2 separate regions of the Homo sapiens genome follow, and region 1 is linked to region 2. The links are contacts of gene promoters, found by promoter capture Hi-C in blood cells and fetal thymus (Javierre and others, 2016). All regions are on one chromosome and are shown on one strand. Each heading gives the region's core, a stretch centred on a gene start or on the middle of the fragment in contact. The rest is flanking DNA. Distances are from core to core; before and after follow the strand shown. Region 1 overlaps PTGIS (prostaglandin I2 synthase). Region 2 holds the start of SLC9A8 (solute carrier family 9 member A8).

What was found. Contacts are between HindIII fragments. The CHiCAGO score rates a contact against its expected background, and 5 or more counts as called.
Region 1: a contact is called between a fragment that was not itself captured here and the fragment with the promoter of SLC9A8 in region 2, in 4 of 17 cell types (endothelial precursors, M2 macrophages, M1 macrophages and 1 more). The highest score is 10.2, in endothelial precursors.

Annotation. Positions count from the first base shown.
Region 1 is chr20:49,538,800-49,542,255 of GRCh38, reverse strand. It overlaps PTGIS (prostaglandin I2 synthase), which reads left to right. Exons shown (of 10, transcript NM_000961.4): 5 at 2,535-2,686. Among named protein-coding and RNA genes, the nearest start is that of PTGIS, 28 kb to the left of the region's middle. RefSeq lists an enhancer at 406-455. The HindIII fragment of the contact is 2,073 bases long and covers 1,132-3,204 here.
Region 2 is chr20:49,811,260-49,814,604 of GRCh38, reverse strand. SLC9A8 (solute carrier family 9 member A8) reads right to left here and starts at 1,777. Exons shown (of 16, transcript NM_015266.3): 1 at 1,657-1,777. The coding sequence starts at 1,682. RefSeq lists a silencer at 1,529-1,808 and an enhancer at 1,959-2,098. The HindIII fragment of the contact is 7,464 bases long and covers 1-2,996 here.

The DNA.
Region 1 (3,456 bases), core at 919-3,418, 270 kb after region 2:
GGTGCCACCTCTTACACCCACCAGCCTGGCCTGTGTTGGCCCTGGCCTCACTGAGTCACACCCAAAGTTCTCCTCTGTCCTCACCTTGTAGCCCTGGCCTCCCCTCCTCCCACCTACCTCTCTGCTGCCCCTTGAGCAGGTCAGGCACGCTCTCTCTTTGTGGCCTTTGCTATTTCTGTTCCCTTGCCTGGGAATGCTGTTCCCCACAGGTCTGCGTGGCTCCCACCCCACTTCGTTTAAGCCTTATCGCGAGCGCCACCTGCTCAGAGAGGTCTTTCTTGAGTCCCATTTTCGTGATGGCTCCCTCCTGTGACCCAGCTTGGTTCAGCTTTATTTTTCTTTGTGGCTCTAGCGCCGCCTGTGGGTCGTGTGTGTATTTACATATGGGATTATCCTGTCTTCAGCCGTGCTCTTTTGATATGGAGCTGCCGGCTTCGCTTCCACAGAGCAAAACCTTGTGGTCCTCTGGGTTTACTTTTTCTTTTTGTTTTCTTTTCCTTCATTTTATTTTATTTTATTTTAAAGACAAAGTTTCGCTCTTTCGCCCAGGCTGGAGTGCAATAATGGCGCGATCTCTGCTCGCTGCAACCTCCGCCTCCCAGATTCAAGCGATTCTCTCGCCTCAGCCTCCTGAGTAGCTGGGACTACAGGTGCCGCCACCATGCCCAGCTAATTTTTGTATTTTTAGTAGAGAGGGGGTTTCACCATGTTGGCCAAGCTGGTCTCGAACTCCTGACCTCAGGTGATATAACCACCTCGGCATCCCAAAGTGCTAGGATTACAGGCGTGAGCCACCTCTCCCGGCCGGTTTACTTTTTTGGTTTATTTTTCATTGCCTGTTTTGGTAGAAATATATGTACCGGGAAATGGTTCTCTGAGTTAGCAAAAAACAACAGTGCAAGTGTGATGATAAATGATGACCAGTGTCAACTGCAGTGTCACCGAGACCACAGGGCCTTGGGAGTACCGCAGTGGCCTGGCAAGCACGTGTCTGTCTAAAAGGGGCGGCTGCAACTCTGCTCCTGCTAGGTTTCCAGGTGGGACCGCAGGTCAGCCAGATTCCTTTTTCAAGATGAGATGAGCAGGAAATCCGGATTTTGTGTGAGTTTCCCCAAATGTTTGAAGGAAGCTTTAGTTTGTTTTTAGGAACTCCCTTGATAAAACACATTTGTGGACTGAATCCAGTGTGTGGGCTGCACCTTTACAACTTCTGCCACCACTGTGCAGGTGAGGGACAGAGCAGGGACCACGCAGGCCTCTCTCGGCCCCCACCTACCCTCATTCCTGCTTCCATTCTCTCTTCATCTGGGAAAACCCCTCTCCTGAGAGATCCTGGTCTCTGGTCTTTGTCTGCACAGGGATCCAGGAGCTCAAGGGGAGGGTGAGAGGGTGAGGCCCCGGGGCTTTGGTTGCGTCTCTTTGTTGTGACTCTCTGCTGAGGCAGAGATGACAAAATGAAAGCCTGCAGTTTCCCTCCCAGGACTGAGGTCAGCCCGCTGGGCTGGGGCTGGACTCCTGGGGCATTTAAAGGGGGCTGGAGGTGAAGGCGCGTCCTCTGAGCGTGGTCCTGTGTGTGTGCGTGTGCGTGTGCGTAAGTGTGCCTCAGTGAGAGCACATGAGAGCTCATGCTAGCTCCCATGTCTTACCCTTTTTCACACTTGACCAGGCCCTGACCTCCTTCTCGGGCCTCCCAGAGCCCCTCAGATCAAGCACAACCTTCTCACTGCTGCAAATGCCTGCCTTGCGTGGCCAGCCCTGACAGCCCAGGCCCTCCCATCCTCTGCCTCACACCCCGGCTCCAGTGCCTGCACCAGCCACAGCTGGCACCTCTCCCACCAGGCACGGTTGCACTCTCAGCTCTGGGCCTTTGCACAGGCTGTGCCTGTTGCCTGAACACGTTCCTCTTCTGCTTCCCCCGATCATCCTGCAGATCTCAGCTCAGACCCTCCCTTCTCTAGGAAGTCTTCCCTGAATCCCTCCCTGGGAGCAGGCATCTCCTCCCCTTCTCTGTGCCCCCATCTCAGCACCGTCCCCTCGAGCTCTCTGCTGCAGCCTCATCAGCCTCCTTGCTGCTCCCCAGCACCGGGCTCCCTCCTGCCCCAGGACATCACACCTGGTGCTTGCTCTGCTTCCTACCCCTCCCTCTGCTCTGCCCATGGCTGACTCCTTCTCAGCCTTCAGCTGTCAGCTTGACACCAGCCCCTCCCTCACCTGGCACCTGACACCACAGCCCCCGCCCTCCCATCCTGCTACCCAGCTTTGTGTCTGACAGTGCCGCGGGGCACCAGCTGGCGCATTATTCATTTTACTCATCCTCTCGTCTGTTGTCTGTCTCCCTGTGCTGAGAGGTCAGCTCCTTGAGGACAGGGATTTTTGTTTTTTTCACTGCCGACTGTTCAGTGCCCAGAATGGTCTTTGGCGCACAGTAGGATTAGTAGTTGCTCACTGGGTGTATGAATGAAGCTCTTGTGAGTAGCTGTGGCCACACATGAGTGTCCCAGGAGGACCCCTGACCCTCTGTCTGCCGCCCCCAGAGCCGGCTACCTGACTCTTTACGGAATTGAGGCGCTGCCACGCACCCATGAAAGCCAGGCCCAGGACCGCGTCCACTCAGCTGATGTCTTCCACACCTTTCGCCAGCTCGACCGGCTGCTCCCCAAACTGGCCCGTGGCTCCCTGTCAGTGGGTAAGCACCATGGGGGCCCCAGTGGGTGGGGGGGAGGATGGAAAGACCCAGAGGGGGAGCCCAATTCAAGGTAGAGGACCAGAGGCAACACAGGCAGAAAGACATCCAATGCCCAGGGAGGCAGTAAGATCCCCATCACTGGGGGTATGCAAGAGCGCAATGGTGGGGAGCCAGGGCTTGGACCAGAGCTTGGGTTCCTGGTGGAAATTCTGATTCAGCACATTTAGAGTGGGGCTGGAGAATCTCTGTGTGTGTGTGTGTTCCTTTTTGTGTTTTAAGGTTTGAGTTGCTTTAAAAGTTTTTACAAGTAGTTCGTGCTGATTATAAAAAATTCAAGCCATATAGAATAATTTACAGGGAAGAATAAAAGAGCGCTCCACTTTCTCCCCAGCCTCAGCCCACCACTTCCCTCTACAGAGGCAACCACCATCACTAGCTTGGAGTACATCCTGGGAGCACTTTCTCTAAACAGACACACAGATGTGTGTTATTTTTATTTTTATTTTATTTTTGAAGCTTTTAACTTCTTGTTTTTTACTGAGGTATAATTTATATACAGGAAAGCACACACATCTAAACGCACTGAGAGGCCAGGTGCAGTGGCTCACACCTGTAATCCCAGCACTTTGGGAGGCTGAGGTGGGCGGATCACTTGAAGTCAGGCGTTTGAGATCAGCCTGGTCAACATGGTGAAACCCCATCTCTACTAAAAATACAAAAATTAGCCAGGCATGGTGGCGGGTGCCTGCATTCCTGGCTACTCGGGAAGC
Region 2 (3,345 bases), core at 528-3,027:
AAGCCACCTCAATTTGCCCAGTTGTTGATCTGGGCATGCCCTACCCTACTTTACAAAATCCCTCTCAGATTTCAAACGGCTCAAATGTCACCTCCTATTACCCCATCTTACCACACCCGAATTTACCCACTCCACTGCGTATGTTCCCACAGCTCTTTCACACTGTGCTGGGATTGTGAACTAGTACAATATTGCTATAATAACTGTTACTGTGACTACAAAAGTTATTATTTTCTGAGCACTGCTTTATTCCAGGAACTAGGTAACACACTACCTCTCATTTAATAGGTATAACATGTCTGATTGGGTATGATTACTTTCCGTTTTTTACTCATGCATAACTAAGGCTCAGGGAGGTTGCAAAACTTCACCAACATCTCAGTTAGTGGCAGAATCAAGCTGAAAACCCAAACTTGAAATCGCTGGGCTATATTGCCTCTTTTATTTTGTGCTGCTGAGGCTGTTTAGTGTCTGGGATGGAGCAGCTGCTCAATAAATAACTGATTACATGAAATGACCCCCACATGGCCAAGAAATATATTTGAAAAGTTATCAGGTGAAGGACTCCAGTATCAATGAAGGGGTTCCTTATTCATCTTCACATACTCATTCCACAAACAGTGATAGGGCATCTACAATCTGCAACAGACTCTGCCCTGCAGGTATGGAGATGACTTTTGGACTTGCCCAAAAGTACCTGGAGGACACAGCCCGTCCTTCCCCATCTCCCCTTGTCCAGCTAACCCCCTTCCTCTCTACACACCAGCCATGCTGCCTGTCACTCAAAAGCACTAAACTCTTTCTTGAGCCAGGCCTTTTGAACCTGATGTTATTTCTCCTATCCCTCATTCTGGTCATTCAAGTTTCTGCTGAATGTCACTTTTTCCTGAGTGGACTCCCCAACCTTAACTCTATTTTGCTTCCTTCAGAACACTTAACCCATTCATGCCAGAGGTTGCAATTTTTAGAACTGCAGACGTGAGAAAAATCAGACCTTGGCGATGACCTTGAGCAGTAGGATATAAATAACTCCCACATGCTTAGCGTTCCAATAATGGAACACTAGGCACAAATAACGTTAATTAATCACGATCTGAAACCACCTTGACTAATTATGGTCTTCTTTTCCCACTAGAATGGAAGCTCCCAGAGAGCGGCTCCTGGTCGGCCTCCTTTCCTACCACCTGCCCAGGGCCTGGAATTGAGTAGATGGCTAACAGTTAATGACTAAATGAAACTTAGTGAAGGAGAAAGACATGAAAACTGATCGTTATACAGGAGGCGACTGGCTACGTAGGAGGTGGGTGTGGAGAACCCGGACGACTTCCTGGAGGAGGCGGAAGAGGGCTCAGTAACCATGAGATTACCGAAAACTGGGAAAGTAAATATGGTTTGTATTTTCCGCAAGACAGCTCTCCGGGCCTGCGCTGGGCAGTAGATTCCCAGCTCGAGGGACCGATCTCCAGGGGAAAGCAAGGCCCACCTGGGCCCAGGCCCGCCCATCCCGCCCTCCTCGTAGGCACCGGCTTGGTCAGTCCTGGCCAACCAGCAAAAGAAGCTCCGCCTTCCGGGGCCGGAGGGCGGCCTGAGGCGCTCGCTGTCACCCGCCGGGGCCCAGCCCCGCCGCCTCCGCCGCCCGGGAAAAAGCCCACTCACTCCTCTTCCGCCATCTTCTCCCCCATCCTGCGGAGCTTCCAGGACCACCGAGTTCGGAGCCGCGGGGCTAGCAGGACCCGCTTTTGCTTCCGGCTTCCGCTGGAGGCGCGGGCGGGCGAGCGGGAGGCGGGGCCTCGGCCGCGCGAGGGCGGCCCTCTGTCCCTCCGTCTCAGTGGCCCGAGGGTGGGAGAAAGCGCGTGGGAGGATTGCTTCTTAGTCTCTCCCGGGGCTTTCGGGACGCTTGTCCGGCCTGGGCCACATGACCACCTGGGACCGAGAGATTCCGGCTTTTCCCCATCACAGGGCGGGGACGTTTTGGGGAAACTCCTCTGAGGTCACTGTGACTCACCCTGAGGGCAAGCAAGCACCCTCCACCCAGTGCCCTCGACTTCGCTGTGCTAAAAGAGTTTGAAAAAGGATGCCCAGCCTGCAGCCTAAGCGGAGAGACCCCAGGGGGACACTTCCCCACCCGAGCCTTAGTTTCCTTCGGCTGTGGAGAGGAATAACCGCCTGGACTTGGCAGGACTGTGCAGCATTCCATCTGTAAACATGTGTTGAGTTCAGACTATATGCCTAGCGTTAAAAAGGATGCTGATGATCTAGGGGTGGACCATTCATTAAGGGGTTCATTGATTCACCACATGCTTAGTAGATGCTTCTATGTGCCTAGCAGTGACCGGTGGGGTGGGGATGCAGGGAGGAACAAGGTGAGGTGAGAGGGGTAGGTGAGACCCCCATCGGGAGGACTGGGGCTGAGGACTTTGAACTTTATTGGCCGCTTCTGTTGCTACCTCCCTTCCTGATCCAAGGCACTCTATCTCATCTGGATAATTGCAACGGCTCCATTCAGGGTCTCTGACTCACCCCTGTTCCTTACGGACTTCCACACAGCAGCTTAACTCATCACTCCTCTGCTTAGACCCTCCAATGGCTTCCAATCTCCAGAGAAAAAAAAAACGTGGGGAATGTACAGGACTCAATCCTGCCCCCTTTTCCCCTCTGAAGTGTGTGGGAGGGGGGCATGGGGCTCTATATCTCCCCTCCCACACACTTTGACTTTCCACTATTGTCCCAGACTCACCAGGAATACTTCCACCGTTGCACTTACTGAGCCTTTATCTAGAATGCTCTTCTTCTGGGTAGCTCTTTGGCTCCCACCTCTCCTACGTTTGGCCTTTTATTTAACCCTTATCTTGTGTGTTAGACCTCCTTGACCACCCTACTTAAAATCCAAGGCCCCCCGCCTTCCCTAAACTATTTTTCCACATGACACCTAACCTACCATATGTTTTACTCATACACTTGTTTGTTAACCATCTCCCTCCATGAGAACGGAAGCTTCATGAATGCAGAAATTTTTGTCTGTTTTGTTCTCCATTTTATCTGCAATGCCTACAACAGTACCTGGCACATAGTAGACACTCAATAATAAATAATCATTGAGTAAATAAATCAGTTAATTCTAGCACACCTAGAAGGGTTTTGAACTGAGAAGTAACCTAAGCTTTGCTGCCTGTTGGGAGTTGACTGGGGATTGGCGAGAGAGAGAGGATGGAAGCCCCAAAGCCAGCAAGGAGGCTTTTGCAATAATCTAGGTGACAGCTGATGGCAGTCTGGATGAAAGTAATACGGTGGAGGTGGCAGGAATGGTTGGACTCCTGGACGCATACTGAAGACAAGGTTTGCTGA